Linked DNA regions of Homo sapiens: regions 1 and 2 are each linked to region 3. Evidence: promoter capture Hi-C in human tissues and cell types (Jung and others, 2019). All regions are on one chromosome and are shown on one strand. The core of a region is centred on a gene start or on the middle of the fragment in contact, and the rest is flanking DNA. Distances in the headings are between cores, read along the strand shown. Region 1 holds the start of AGO2 (argonaute RISC catalytic component 2). Region 2 overlaps COL22A1 (collagen type XXII alpha 1 chain). Region 3 holds the start of KCNK9 (potassium two pore domain channel subfamily K member 9).

Region 1 (4,752 bases), core at 1,387-3,886, 930 kb after region 3:
CTGCCTCAAGGGTTCAAGCGATTCTCCTGCCTCAGCCTCCCGAGTAGCTGGGACTACAGGCGTGCACCACCACGCCCAGCTAATTTTTGTATTTTTAGTAGAGACGGGGTTTCATGATGTTGGCCAGGATGGTCTCGATCTCTTGACCTCGTGATCCGCCCGCCTTGGCCTCCCAATGTAATTTTTCTATAATTCAAATTGAATGTCTTATAATTCTAAATTAGAAAGTATAAGATTAAAAAGAGTCTCAATGAAGACTATTCCAAAAATTCCTTTTACACAAAATTAAAAGCCTTAATGTGTAGCATAAAATGGAACTGCACCACAGACTTATAATTACAGCACGTTTGTACAACCTGAAACTTGGGTTCATTCCCATCCTGCCATTAGCTATGAATTATCCTGCAGACACATTTATTCTTTCAACCACTGTCCTGTTCCAGAGGGTCCACTCCCTACCAGGCCCACACCAAGGCAACAATCTCCAAAAAGCAGCGAGTGACAGAAACGAGCCTGTGGATCATGAGGGCCAAGGTACGCTGAAAAATGAAATCGACAAGACAGCATCCCGGGGCAGTGCACACAGTACAGCAGTGAGCTGGGGTGGCTTCCTGAAGCCCCGCTGTCAATGACAAGTATGCGGGCAGGTGCTGGTCCAGTCCAGCCCTAACAGAGACTTCTTACTGTGGGTCTGGGTTATAGGGCTTGAAAGGGACTGCCCTGAGGAAGGCACCCAGAGAACCAGCTCGGAAGTCGGACCGATTGTCCTGATACTCACTCACTGCTGTGTGACCTTGGTGAAGTTCTCAACCTCTGTGAGCCTCGGCTGTCTGTCTTCACAAACACCACCAACCTCAGCAAGTGGAGTGAATTAAGTAACACGCAAAACACAACACAGAAAGCTTGACCTTCCTTAAAGCCTCTTCACTTTTTCTGGGCCTCCAACTTTTAAAACCGATAACCTGAAAAAATGTAGTGCTGTCAGTCCCATAAGCTGGGTTCCTCTACAAAGAGGAGCTGGAAGGTCCCAACTCACAAGGGGATGCCCGGTCCTTTCCCAAGAGGGGGCCTGGCCACCCAAGGCCTCTAGAGGCCAGCACCTGCTCCAGGACTGCGGCCCCTCCCAGGTGGAGGGGGAAAATCATTCTTCAAACTGCTGATGGCCCTCAGGGGTTGAAAAGTTGGTCAGACTCCGCCTTGTTGAAGCTTTCTAAATGACATCAGAAAAAAGACGCGACATTCGCAAGGCACAGAGCCAACAGCTCCAGCAGTGGGGGCCACCATCAACGGACCAAGGTGGGCCAGGGGGCCTTCCGGACCCCACAATTTGGGGCCGGTCTGCAGCAACGAGGGCAGCATCGGGAATGCGAGCCTCCTCGCCCGGCCGGGTAAACATAAGCCCAGAGCCCGGCGGGGCCTGCGCCGCCTGCGGCCCGGCTGGGGCCCAGCGGACAAAGGGGAGCAGGCGGTGCCCCGTCCCAGCGGCCAGGCCGGCCGAGAGAGCCAGGAGCCACGTGCCCGGTGGGAGCACGCCAAAAGCAGGAGAACACCTGACCGTTTTTTTGGCCCACCAAGGAGACCGCCTTCTACTCTGCATTTAAAAAGAAAAACAACGCGTTACCGCTTTAAGTTTTTTAGAACTTTTCCAGAGAAAGGCCGACTAGCAACAAGGGGTGCTACAGGAATCCACCTCGCCTCACCTCTCCTAGGAAATTGTAAAAGGAATTAGCACTTGAATGGGGAGGCCGGCGTGTCTGGAATGAGAACGAGCCGCGCACGCAGTTTGAGGGTTCCGGGGAGCCGCGTCCTCCCCTTTCCAGGCGACAGCCCTAACTACAGGAATTGGCCAAAATTCAGCATTTCCAGACTTTCCTTGGGAAAAGGGGCCGAAGAAGTGCCGGCAACAAGAAGGGCCACAACGGAGCGCGCCACAGACTCACCGCGGCTGGGGTCGGGACCGGCGCAGCCCCCTCCCCTCCCGCCCGTGCGCGCCCCGAGCCGGGCGCCCCGACCCGGCCTCCACCCGCTCAGGCGCTCAGGGTCAGGCCGGGCCGGGCTGCGGCGCCCCCATCCCCGCCCGGGCAGCGAGGCCGGGCCAAGCGGGGCGCTCCGGGCCTCGGGCCTACACGCGGCGGCCGCCTCGGCCCCGGCCCCAGCCCGCGGGCCCCGGGCGGGGGATGCGAGGACGCTGGGACGCGGGCCCGAGGCGCGGGAGGGGCCCAGGCCGCGCGGGGCGCCCCGACGACTCGCGGGGGCCGAGGAGGCCGGGGCTGCGCGTCCAACGCGGGGCCGAGAAAACGGCCGGCTCGGCCCCGCCGCCGCCGCTCCTCGAGCCCCCAAGCGCGGCCCCGGCTCGCCCGCCCCCGGCCCCCGCCGCCCCGACCCCGCGGCCCCCCGATCCCCGGCCCCTGCCGCCCGCGCCGGGCCCGCCAACCACGGGCAGGAGCGCGCGAACGGCCGGGCGGGCGCCCCGAGCGCCAGGACTCACCGGGGCCGGCTCCCGAGTACATGGTGGCGCCGCCGAGGGGCTCCGGGGCCGAGGGGCGGCCGCGCGCGCGCCACGGGCCCCGACGCCGCGAGCCGCGAGGGAGCCGCCGGCCGCACGATCCGCCCCGGCGCGGCCGCCTCGCCAAACAGGTTTACCCGACGCGGCCGGGGCGGCGGGCGGAGGCGGCGGCGGGAGCGGGAGCGGGAGGGGCGGGGGAGGAAGGAGGAGGGAGGGGGAGGGGAGGCGAGGCCGGCGGCGGGAGCGCGCTCGCGGGGGGAGCGGGGCTGGGCGCGCGGGCGGGGTCCGCGGCGGCGGCGGCGGCGGCGCCGGGTCTGGCGGGGCCTGGGGCGGGGACCCGGGGAGGGGCCCGGAGACCTCGCCGGGCGGTGGGAACCGCGGGCGGGAGCGGGGACGAGGGCCGAGGGCGGCGCGGCCCGTGTGGCGCGGGGGCGGGCGCGGCCCCGGGGACCCTTCACTGCCACCCAGAGAAGCCGCGTCTTCCCGACGGGGAGGAGCCGGGCCCCCCGGCTGTGCCGCCGGAGCCGGAGGGGAGGCCACGCGCCCCCGCTTTCCCCGCCGCCCCCCGGTGGGGGGCGCAGAACCCTCCCACCCTCAGCCCCTCGGCCCCCAGCCTGGCTCTTTAAGTTACTACAGAAACACGGAGGTCGGGAAGCTCCCTCCCAGCCCGGAGCTTGAACTTGAACGCGGCCGGCCGCTCGCGCAGGACCACACCGCCACCTCCCGGCGCGGCCCCAGAACCCAGATAATCCGTTTAAAGCACTGAGAAAATCTAAGAAGTTTTTAGTAAACTGTAGCTGGTATCAGGGATCAGATCAGCGGACACGCCCATTCCAGCAGTCAGGGGCCTGCTCGGACCGTCGTGCACCTCCGAGCGTTTCTGTCCGGTCCCTCTGGGTCCGTCTGGTTTTCGGAGGCTTTCCTGGAAAAGCCAGCCTGTGGCTACCTCCTTTCTCCCCTAAGTGATGGAGGATTAGAAGGCAGAGGTTGACCCACAATCTAAAGTGCCTGGTCGCCTTTTCCCAGATTTCCCGGAGCATTCCTTCACCCCGTGGCATCGGCTGTCTGCATATGGGTGCAAGGCCCTGTTCCGGGCGGAGAATAAACAGGAGTTCTGACTGACAGGAGCTCCGCAGCCAGCAGGGTGGTCACTAGTTCTCTGCAGTCTCGGAGGACAGCCCTGAAGAAGGGCAGGAGAACCAGCACTTCCTCCGAAAACTCAAAAGGACATCAGTCTTCACCAAGTTGCCGATACAAAACGTGCTCCTGAAATGTGTAGTAATGAACACCAGGAAACCTGGGTAGGAGTGTGCATGGCATTCTTCATCACCGCTTGGACTGCATGGCACTGAATACCCACGGAGAGCAGGATGGAGAAACAGTGTGCTCATATTCACAGGATGGAATCTAGCCATTCACAAAAATTCCAAAACAGGCAAAATTAAACTGCATTCTTTAGGGAAGCATCATTAAGTAGTAAATAATTGACAGAAGGGCAAGAAGGTGCTTACTCTAAGTGTCAGAATGGTGGATACAGCTGGGGGTGAGAGGGCTGTGACCACAGCAGGGCCCCTGGGGGATTTGGGGGTGCCAGGCCTGTTCCTTCCTGCAATGGTGCCCTTTGGCAGCCATCCCTTAAACTGCACTTTTACTTTATATGCTTTTCTGTACCTTTACTGTAGTATTTCACGGAAATTTTTAAATAATCATGAATGTTACCACTTTCCTATTTATGAACCATGCAACCTCATCAATCTTCCCAGTTCGCAGATGCCCACCCTCTCTCTCTGCCCCTGTCTCCTTCACATATCCCCAAAACTCGTTTTGGCCCGAAATCCCTGAGGCCCAACTGCCCTGCTGTCAGCGACTGCACGCCTCAGCAAAGGCCCAGAAGGCTCTGTCATCACTGGCTGCCCTCAGCCCGCCTTCAGCTCCTTTGAGCGCTGTGTTGGGGAACTTTGTTGCAAGGATTTCGTTCCAGAAGGCAAGATAATGTCTCTGAGGGCTTCATTGTGTCACTTCTCTTTGGATGGCGGACACCGTGGCCCTCTGCTGGCGGAGGGGTGCCATTGCTGCCTGCCCCATCTCTATCCCCAGGGCCCATGCAGTCACTGGGTTCGCCCTCTGGGGCACGGGGTTCCCTCTGCTCTTTTCCTAGATAAGCCCATTCTCTGCAGGTCTCTACCCTCCACACCTGTGTTCAGGAATTCAGCCCGCTTCCTGCAGCCCCATCCCTACCCTCCTCC
Region 2 (4,882 bases), core at 2,014-4,513, 860 kb before region 3:
CAGAGAGAGACTCTGTTGCAAAGAAAAAGAAGAAAAGAAAAGGAAAGGAAAGGGAAAGGGAAAAGGAAAAGGAAAAGGAAAAGACCAGTCATCAGGCCTGGACAGGACAATGGCCCTGCACAGTGTCTGCCTGTCTGCCAGTGGCAATACATTCTGACTCTACTATTAGACATTCACGTCTTGGAAAATCACTTTGAGTTTTAAATGAGAAAATGTAGGAACATGCCTGAAACACAACAGTTGCTCACTAAATGCTGGATGCTCTAATGGGTCCCTCACCTTGAATGAGAACATGATCACTCCTCTAAACCCTCACAAACTCTAGATAAACATGCGGCATGGACAGGTGGGTGGGTCTCCCTGACACCAATATCCTGTGATCCTGGCTGAGTCATTTTCTTTCTATCAGTCTCATCTGTAAACTGGGATAATGGGTACAATTTGATCATCTTTTGTGTTTTTAGCACCAAAAACTGTTGATCATATTTCCCCCAATTCTTGCCATGGCTGGGAAGAGTCCCAGTCAAACTGCATTTTTTACATAACAGTTAATTTGAATGTGCAATTGTACGCAGTGAAGAATCCCTCCGTTCAGTATGCTGGGAGATGGGAGTTAACAGAACAGCCGCTGTTCCTACTCAAAGCCATGGGGTTAATCCCAGGTAAAGGTACGATGCACACTGGGCATCTATTATGTTTAACGCAGCCCAAGGCACTCTGCTCCCACACAGAGTTCCAGCTGGGACAGTGAGGAAGTTATCCGGTTTTGTTGAGCCTGTTTCCGTAACTGGAAAAATGGAGAGAATGATTTATTGCAGGGGTGTCATGAGACCTAAGTGTGATGATGGGATTAAATACCTGGGGGGAAGCCAGCACCCAGGAGTTACTCGGTCAACCCCACTGTCCCTGCCTGGGGACCACAGTGGGAACCTGTTGACCCAAGTGAAGCTTGGTCCCCTGGCAATAGCTCTGCCACCACCCCAGAGCCCCACCTCTTTCACTCTGGTTATAAGGACCAGGCCTCCAGAGTGCATGACTGGGAGCAGCCGCCACACCTACCGGAGAGGGAGTCCTGGGGAGTCCCCGAGAGATCCCAAGTTGGACGAGGCCAGTCACCCAGACATTGGGAGACATTCACCAAATGCATGCTGGGAGCACTCCCTGTCCCTCATCTCTCCCCTGCACTGCTGTTGACAAAGCCCCCAGCCCACCTGAACAGGACCTCAATGCCCCAGAGGCTGCAGTCTCAGCATCGCCTGGGGACAGAAGCATGGAGAGTCCCCACAGCTCTGGGCTCCCAGGCAGGCCCAGTGAGGAGCAGCTGTTGGAACTGACTGGGCCCCATACAACAAGGGGCCTTTGACAACCCACCGGGCTGCCCCTGTATTGGGGCCTCTGTGTCTGGAAGTGTCCTGGGGCCTGAGGAGCCCCAGCAGTGGGAGGGGCTGGTGCCTCTGAATGGGGGAGCTTGGCCATGAAGACCTGGAGGGCCCTGCGGTTCCAGGGTTCCATGAAACTGGTGCCTAAAGTGTACAGTCTGCTTAGGATTAGATGTTGTCCCAGAGAAAGGCAGAATAGGTGAGAACAGGTTTTGAGACCAGCCCATTCTAGGTTCAAAACCTGGCCCAGCCCTGGCCAGAGGTGGGACGTGTCCTGGTGGCCTCCTCCTCAGTGATGTAGGGGTGAGGACGTGCCTTGCAGGGTTGTCACCTTGAGGAGGGGCACAGACAGCACCTGGGAGTTCTTGAGGTGGGAGCTGGGGGAGGGGGTCGCTGCTGAAGAAAAGCAGCAGCCAGTGTAATTGAGGCAGCAGAAGCAGTGGCGTGGAGGGAAAGAGAGCACCGCAGCCGGCCACACCTGGGTTCCTGTCCCTGTTCTCAGACTCAGCAGTTCCACGGCTTTGGGGCAATTTCTCAGCCCCTTAAGCCCCCATTTGTCATCTGTGCAAAGGGGATAGGCAGCCACTTCTCAGGGCCACCTGAGGAATCTCACAGAGGTGGGGTCCCTGGAGGCTCATGGGGAGTGAGGGCTCTTACTCAGAGGAGGCTCACAGGTGGCCTCAGCAGCCCCTCACACACTCACTGAGGGATGAGGGGGAGTGAGGAGAGCCTAAGAGCTGGTCCAGAATCTGGGCGGACACGTGCCTACCCTGGGAAAAGTCAGGGCCGGGAACTGCAAAGTGGGCCGATCCTCTACTTCACAGCACCATCAAACACCACTAAAAATGGACACCTTCATCTGCTTTTCCCTTCAGCAGTCATATTGGAGAGAATATATGAAATAGACTTGTTTTCAAAAAGCAAGCCTATGCTCTACTTTCTGGTTCCACTTTTATTGGTTTCAGTGAACAAAAACAAAGAGTTGAATACAACAAAACTTGGAACAACAAGGAATTAACTAGGTGGCAGCAAAGGGCACCAAAAAAAAAAAAAGATAAATTGCCCAAAATAAATAAGGGCTGGGAAGGAGAATAAAAAATGTTCCCGAGGAAAGCAGGCTGTGATGCAAGGCACTGTGAGATAAAAAAAAAGCAATTGTTTTATGCAAAAAATAGAGGGAGCACCTCGCTGAAGCCAGGGAAGCCGCTGGACCACGTGGTGTCAGAAGACCTTAGTGATGGCCCAGGTCACTGGCTGCACCTGCTGTGCCAGGTACCTACTGTGTGCTCCTCACCTCATCCAGCAAAGGTCGACCTGGATGGAACTTTGCTGCTGCCCTCCCCCACCCCCTTAGCTGCCTTAGTTCCTCTTGGAGTTTCCATGGGTCTGGGTAAGATGCAGGCAGCTTATGTTTATGGGGCTGCCTCCTCCAGTAGATGGAGAGCTCTTTCAGGAAAGGGATGATTTGATCTGTTTCTCCATCCTTAAAATGCCTGCTGCTTTTGCTGTTCCTATTCAAGCATTTGAGGGTCATTTGTGGAAGGAGAGAAGAAGAGAATGAAGGAATTCATGACCCACTATAAAGGGCCTCCTATGTGTTAGATGCTGCGTGGGCTGCTCAGGTTGCCATCATGAACAAGCATCTGGGCTACTGTGGGATGTCAGGACCCACGGCGAGGGTACACTGGCTGGGAATAGGGTGGGCTGGTGCCGGTCAGGCTGGGCTTTTGTCGGCTCCATCGGCGAGTTTGGGTTTCTTTCTTCAGGCAATGAGGAGCCACAGAGGGCTTTAAAGTGAGGGAGAAATACCATCTGGTTTCTATTTTCCAAGGTCATTCTGGCAGCAGGGCATGGAGGGGCAAGACCAGCCAGGAGTAGGTAAAGGTACAATGCACACTGGGCATTTGCAATGTTTAACGCAGCCCAAGGCACTCTGCTCCCACACAGAGTTCCAGCTGGGAACTGGAGGGCAGAGATGAGGTGAGTGAGATGAGGGCAGGTGAGGAGGGAGGGATGGAAGAAGCAGTTGAATTGGAGGGCGGTTTAGAAGGTATCATGGGCAGGACTTGGTGATTATCTGGATGGGGGGCCCAAGTGGGAAGAGAGAGACATCCAGGATGTCTGTGGCCAAATTTGAGACCTGCACATGCCTAACATATGCTTTAAGCATTAAGTAGCTAAACTTCTAGAAAAGTTGCCTAACGCTTTTATTGGCTAGAATTTGTAGAACATTTGGTTTTTAGAGCTGAGAGGGACTCTTGAAGACATTCTGTAGGATCCACTGTTATATAGGTGAGGAAACTGAGGCTCAGAGAAGTCAAAAGATTGACCCAAGGTTGGCTGGCTGGTGAGCAGCAGGGCCATCTAAGACCTATGCCTCCAATCTCCTGCGTCTATTCTCATCCTCGTGCTCCCAGACCCAGCCCAGATATGCCCTAAAAATAGCCAGAGTCATTTATGGGAAAGCCTGGAGGTGAGGCTTTTGGGGACTGCATTTTTTCCAGAATACAGAAGCTGTCCCTATTACCCAATGGCATTTAAATTGGCAAATTTGAGGCTCCATCTCTCCACAACTCCCTCTTCAGCCTGAACATGGCTGGAGCGGTTTTTCGGGGCTGGTTATAATTAGAGGAGACGGTAGATAAAGCAGGTTCTCTGTGCATTCAGAACTGCACAAACAGTATTTGCTCTTCAGACTGAAGGATGCCCAGCTGACATTGTGATTTCTTTTCCAGGGAGACTCCAAAGAGGGAGGGGAGGCTTCAGGACTCCTCTGGCTGTGGACTGACACAGGAGGGCCCATAATAGAGGGTCCCGGTCACCAAACAGACTCTTTGAAAGGATCCTCCACATATGTCGTAGACTAAGAAATCTGTTCAAAGTCCTGCATTTTCATGTGTGAGTACACACACACACACACACACACACGCGCTCCTGAATCTTCCCAGCAAGAATCAGTTATTATTATTATTATTAAGAAAAGGTCTTGCTCTGTCACCCAGGCTGGAGTGCAGTGGCGTGATCTCAGCTCACTGCAACCTCTTCCTCCTGGGCTTAAGCGAACCACCCACCTCAGCTTTGGCTAATCTTTTCATGGGTATTTTTTGGTAGAGATGGGGCACGCACCACCATAGTTGGCTGATTTTTTTGTGTGTATTTTTTGTAGAGATGGGGTTTCACTATGTTGCCCAGGCTGGTCTTGAACTCCTGAGCTTAAGCAATTCACCTGCCTTGGCTTCCCAAAGCTCTAGTATCACAGGCGTGAGCCACTGCACCCAGCCAGAATTATTCTTAAGTAGAAAATAATTGCTATTCTTCAGCCTACAGAATGACAAGAAAAGCTTTAAATTCATGCTGAGTTACAGATGATGCAGGCAGGTTTGTTTGTTCATTTGTCTGTCTGCCTTCCTTCCTTCCATTCTTCTTTCTCCCTCCTTTCCTTTCTTCCTTCTTCCATCCATCATTTTGTCCATCCCTCCATCCAGCCTCCCATCCAACCATTC
Region 3 (4,594 bases), core at 879-3,378:
CCCTAAAGGCATGTTTAAGGGCCTTGGGGCTTTCTCCTTTCCCCAGGGGTGGCCAGTTTCAGAGGCATATTTCTTACTCTCCAGCTCTCCAGCAAACAGGCCCCTGTCTCCCAGAATCACTGCCCTGTGCATCTGCGTGCCACTGCCACAGTTTAAAGCCAGAGAAAATGGCAATGACTGGCCCTCTCAGAAGCTGGAAACACAGTGTGGGAAGGGAAGGAGTCATCTGTGTTTGGGGTGCTGGGCAAAGGGCGTGGGGCAAGCAAGAGCCAAGCTGATTATGTAGATAACAGAAGGACAATTTCCTTCACAAACAGAAAAACCTGCACCAATGAATTAAACATTTAAAACAAGATGACTCTCTAAAAAGTATTTTCAACCAAGAAGGAAAGACAGGCCGTCCTGTGCTGGCGCTTCCTGTTGCATATGGCACTGAGAAATCCTTTTTTTTTCAGTATGCAGAGATTTCCAGACAAAGAAAAATATCAAGAGGGAAATTAGAGGAGGAGGTCCAGAGAAGCGAGACAGGAGGAGCTGGGAAGAAGGGAGGGGGGAAGGAGGAGGTCCCTGCCCAGGGCACAGGGGTGTGAAGCCCTGAGGGGTGCAGGAAACAGACCACCCCCACTAACACACTGGCCTTGGCAAGTCCAAGGAGATGGCCCTAGAGAGGCAGCCTGCCTCACTGGGGCAAGTGAACCACAGAGACACCACCCTGCCTCCTGCCATGCAGGGTATCCACCACGTCCACCCGAATGAAGGTACCTGCCCCAGCTCCCACAGGTCTCCAAGTATAACGTCCGGGAGTCCTCCCAGCCCCCAGCCTTAGAGGGGACACTGCCCTCGGGACCGACCAGAGACCCTGCTCTGTGAATAGCGCCCTTGGCAGTGGGGCTGGCGGGCATCCCTGCAGTTTACCAGCTGGACCCCCTCTCGTGACTGGGGCTCAAGTTCCCTGGTTTCTGGGCAATGTCTAGACTGGCCTTTCCCAGTGTCACAGCCTAGGGAGTGGGCAGGTTCTGCCCTGCCCCCACTCTCCACCTCTACTGAGAGCAATTGAGGGGCTGCCACCCCCAACGCAAGCACCAGAGAGCAAACTCTCTCCTCCCAGGGGCCTGGGAAGTCCAAGCTCCAGAACTGGAACTCAGGGGAAAAAAGGAGCCGGGCGGGGGGAAGAGAGATGAAATCTGAGCTCAGAGAAGCCTGGAGCGGGGCCCAGGGGCTACGGAGGGTCAGTGCCTCTCACGCCCCAGGCGCACTCCCCTGCCACCTGAGTCCCTCTAGGAGCCATGGGTGCCAGGCCAGCCCTCTCCAACTCCCAGAGAGGTAGTAAGTGTAAGGCTCAGAGCCCCGCGCAGCCCAGCCCGCGCCGGGGCGGTGGGTGGGTGGGTGTCTGCTATGGGATTATTCTTAGCGCTCCACTCTCTTCGCAAAAGTGGCGCCTCCGCCCTCCCGGCTCAGGCACACTCGCTCGGGGCTCGCACGCCCGGCCCAGACACCAGCGCGGTGGAGAGCACCGGGTGGGGTCCCCGAAGGGTGAGGCTCGGAGGCGCCGCGGAGGGGGGGCTCCCTAGAGAGGAGGGGGCGCTGCGGGAAGGCCCCCAAGGGAGGCTGCGTTTAACCCTCGACGCCCTGCACCCAGCCCGGCGCGGCGCGCTCAGCCGCCTCCCCGGACTCCTCCCGGGGCGCGGGAGCCCAGCGGCGCGCCCAGCCCTTACCTATGGTGGTGATGACCGTGATCGCAAAGTAGAAGGAGCCGGCGAATTTCCACTGGACGCCGGCGCGGTGCGGTTCCGACTGCAGGATCACCAGCTCCAGCTGCCGGTAGTCCTCGCTGCTGATGTTGTACTTCCCCTTGATCCGGATCTCCTCGGCTTTGAGTTTCTCCTCCTCGCGCATCTCGTGGTCCGACTCGAGGGCGTCGAACACGGCGGCGCCCACCAGCAGGTAGGTGAAGGTGCAGACGATGAGGGACAGAGTCCGCACGTTCTGCCTCTTCATGGCCGCCAGCAAGGAGCCGGCGCGGGGGGCATGTCCCGCAGGCTCACAGCCGCGCGCGTCCCACTGCAGCGCCCGGCGGCCGCCGCCGCCTCCTCCTCCGCCGCCGCCGCCGCCGCCTCCAAGTTGTAAGCGGCGGCGGCAGCAGCAGCAGCAGCAGCGGGGAGGCGGGGGGCGGGGAGGCTGGGGGGGGCCCCCTCCGCTGGGGCCGCCACAGCCACCGCCACCGCGAGGCGGCTGGCGGGGCAGGGGCGGCGCGGGCCCGGGCTCAGCCGAGAAGGCGGACAGGCACAGGAGGCTGCTCGAGCGCCGGGGCCAGGCGTCCGGGAACCCCGACACCCTGCGCCAGACCCGGCCGAAGCAGCCCGCCCCACTGCGCAGGGCCATGCAGGGCGGCCCCGCTGGGTACCGCGCGGGCCTTGCTGCCCTCCGCACCCCGCCCCCCGCTCCCGCGGGAAACGCAGGGACGGGAACCGGAGCCAGAAAGCGGCCGGAGGGCGGCCGCGGGGCCCGGTACCCCTGTGGGTCCAGCTCGCGGGTGGCGGTGCCCAGCAAGGAGCCTGCAGGTCCGCGCGCCCAGCGGAACCTGCTTCCCCTTTTACCCCTCCTCGCCCCCTCTCGGTGGTGGGGAGGAAAAGTTTGCGAAGTGGCGGTGTCTCTGGAGTCCCCTGCAAGCGGGGAGGGGGCCGAGCAGGTGCAGCGGGAGGGGCAGCCCGCTCCCCAAAGGTCCGCGCGCCCAGCGCCCACCCGGGCGCGCGGGTGCGCAGCGGGGTCCCCGCCGGGCGTCGGCCGGTGCGCGAAGTTTGCTCGGCTCAACCCCCAAGGCGCGGGAGCGGGGCGCGGCCCCAGGACGGCAGGGACCGCGATGGAGCGGCTTCGGGGGCGGCCGGGGGACGGCGCGGTGGCGGTCGGCCAGCCCGCTCCTCCGGGGGCGGCGGGCGCGGCGGCGGCGGCGGGAGGGGTCCCGCGGGCCTCGCGGAGCAGCGGGGCGGACGCGGGCGCATGAGCCGCGCGGGGGTCGGGGCCCTCCGGCGTCCGGGCGTCCCGGGAGGCGGCCGCCGCGCTGGTCTGCCCCGGGCGCTACGTGCGTGCGCGCCGTTGGGAGCCCGAATGTGTGTGTGCGCGTGTGTATGTGCGTGTGTGTGTGTGTGTGTGTGTGCGCTTGGCAGCCCCGCTCCGGCGGGAGGGCCTCGGGGAGCGGGGGCCGGGCTACGCCGAGGCCGGGCCTCCCTCCCTCCCTCCCTCCCGCAGCCTCCAGGGCGCGCCACCTCCCGCCTGGTCCCCAGCCAGCTGGCGAGGCTGCTGTGGCAGCTCCCGCTGCAGACCCAGCGCGGCGCAGGGCGCACGCGGAGGGAGCCCGGGAGGGGCGGCCTGAGCCGCCAGGGAGGGGGCGGGGGCGGAGCCGCCGGCGGGTTTTGGCGGGGGATGGGAGGATAAACGCGGCTTCTTGGGTCCTTCTAGCCCCGCTCCCCAAGAGCGCAAGCAGCCCTGGCGGGTGGAGAGTTTGAGGGACTCGGGGTTGGAGGAGGAAAACGGGATTCAGCCAGAGATGGCAGGCTGACAGCTTCAGGCAGATTGGGCAGAGAGTGGGGAGCAGAAGGGGAGGGGGCCATGGGCACACAGGAGAGCGGCAGCAGCGGTTCACGAAGTCTTCCCCACCCCCCACCCCCCACCTAGCCACCCGGCGCGGGAGCGTGTCATTGGCCAGGGACATGGCCTCGTGGAGTGGTGGGGTCCCGAGGGCTGCCTCGGCCCCCTCGCCTCCCAGCGGCACAGCCCGCTTGGGCCAGCACCTGCAGACCCGAGTCGTTTCCCTGGAGAGCGCTAAGGACAGCATGGGCCGCCACTTTTGGAGTCAGGACAGCGGGGAAAGACATCGCAATCCCCCGACCCAGTAACCTCTCTGTTGCTTTACTGAAGGAAAAAAAAAAAATACACACACACACACACACACACACACACACACACACACACACACATATATATATATATATATATATATATAATCACTCTTTGATATATATAATCACTCTTTGGTTCCCCACAGCTGGGCGCAAGGTGCGCCGTGGATGCAGCCCTGAGCCACGCGATAGCCCCCTCGAGACCACCTGGGGTAGGAACACGAGGCTCGGGCTGGGGCGCACCTATTCCCTGCTTCCAGATGAGCCCTCTCCAGGCTTTATCTCCTTCCCATTTTGGCCTCCTTTACCTCCTCCCCCTCCCCGCCCTCTCCCTTTAGGCTATCGAGGGGCTTTTCCTTGACCTTCGGCTTCCTGAATCCCGCCTGGAGCCCTGGAGCTCCAAAAGGACAGACCCAAGCCTCAGAGACCCCTGGGCTCCTCTTCCTCTCCTGACCCCAGCCAAGGAAGGGATGGAGATGGGAAAGAGTTGCCTGGCGGCAGGCTAGCAGCTGGCCAAGGGGTGGCTGGGGAATCAGACCTAACCCTCGGGCAGCTCGCGGGCTCCAGGAGACCAGTCCCTTCTGTGGGTCGCCCCCTGGAGCGGTGCTCGGGCTCCCTGGCCTCAGGGACCCCGGGCCCAGAGGGTCTGGGACCCCAGTGATTCACCGAGGCCTCCCAGCTGGGACGCTCTGCACCCC

Evidence for each region. Contacts are between HindIII fragments. The study calls those that stand out against the background at their distance.
Region 1: the fragment with the promoter of AGO2 here is called in contact with the fragment with the promoter of KCNK9 in region 3 in 1 of the 25 tissues and cell types used here (stomach).
Region 2: a fragment that was not itself captured here is called in contact with the fragment with the promoter of KCNK9 in region 3 in 2 of the 25 tissues and cell types used here (dorsolateral prefrontal cortex and mesenchymal stem cells).

The regions. Positions count from the first base shown.
Region 1 is chr8:140,632,997-140,637,748 of GRCh38, forward strand. It overlaps AGO2 (argonaute RISC catalytic component 2), which reads right to left and starts at 2,637. Exons shown (of 19, transcript NM_012154.5): 1 at 2,489-2,637. The coding sequence starts at 2,510. ERICD (E2F1-regulated inhibitor of cell death) reads left to right here and starts at 1,239. Exons shown (of 1, transcript NR_170171.1): 1 at 1,239-4,752. RefSeq lists enhancers at 108-875, 876-1,642 and silencers at 1,449-1,498, 1,982-2,151, 2,802-3,201. The HindIII fragment of the contact is 25,430 bases long and covers 1,055-4,752 here.
Region 2 is chr8:138,836,252-138,841,133 of GRCh38, forward strand. The region is part of intron 4 of COL22A1 (collagen type XXII alpha 1 chain); the gene reads right to left. Among named protein-coding and RNA genes, the nearest start is that of COL22A1, 75 kb to the right of the region's middle. The HindIII fragment of the contact is 6,501 bases long and covers 14-4,882 here.
Region 3 is chr8:139,700,995-139,705,588 of GRCh38, forward strand. KCNK9 (potassium two pore domain channel subfamily K member 9) reads right to left here and starts at 2,129. Exons shown (of 2, transcript NM_001282534.2): 1 at 1,716-2,129. The coding sequence starts at 1,998. RefSeq lists a silencer at 1,852-2,146. The HindIII fragment of the contact is 18,854 bases long and covers 1-4,594 here.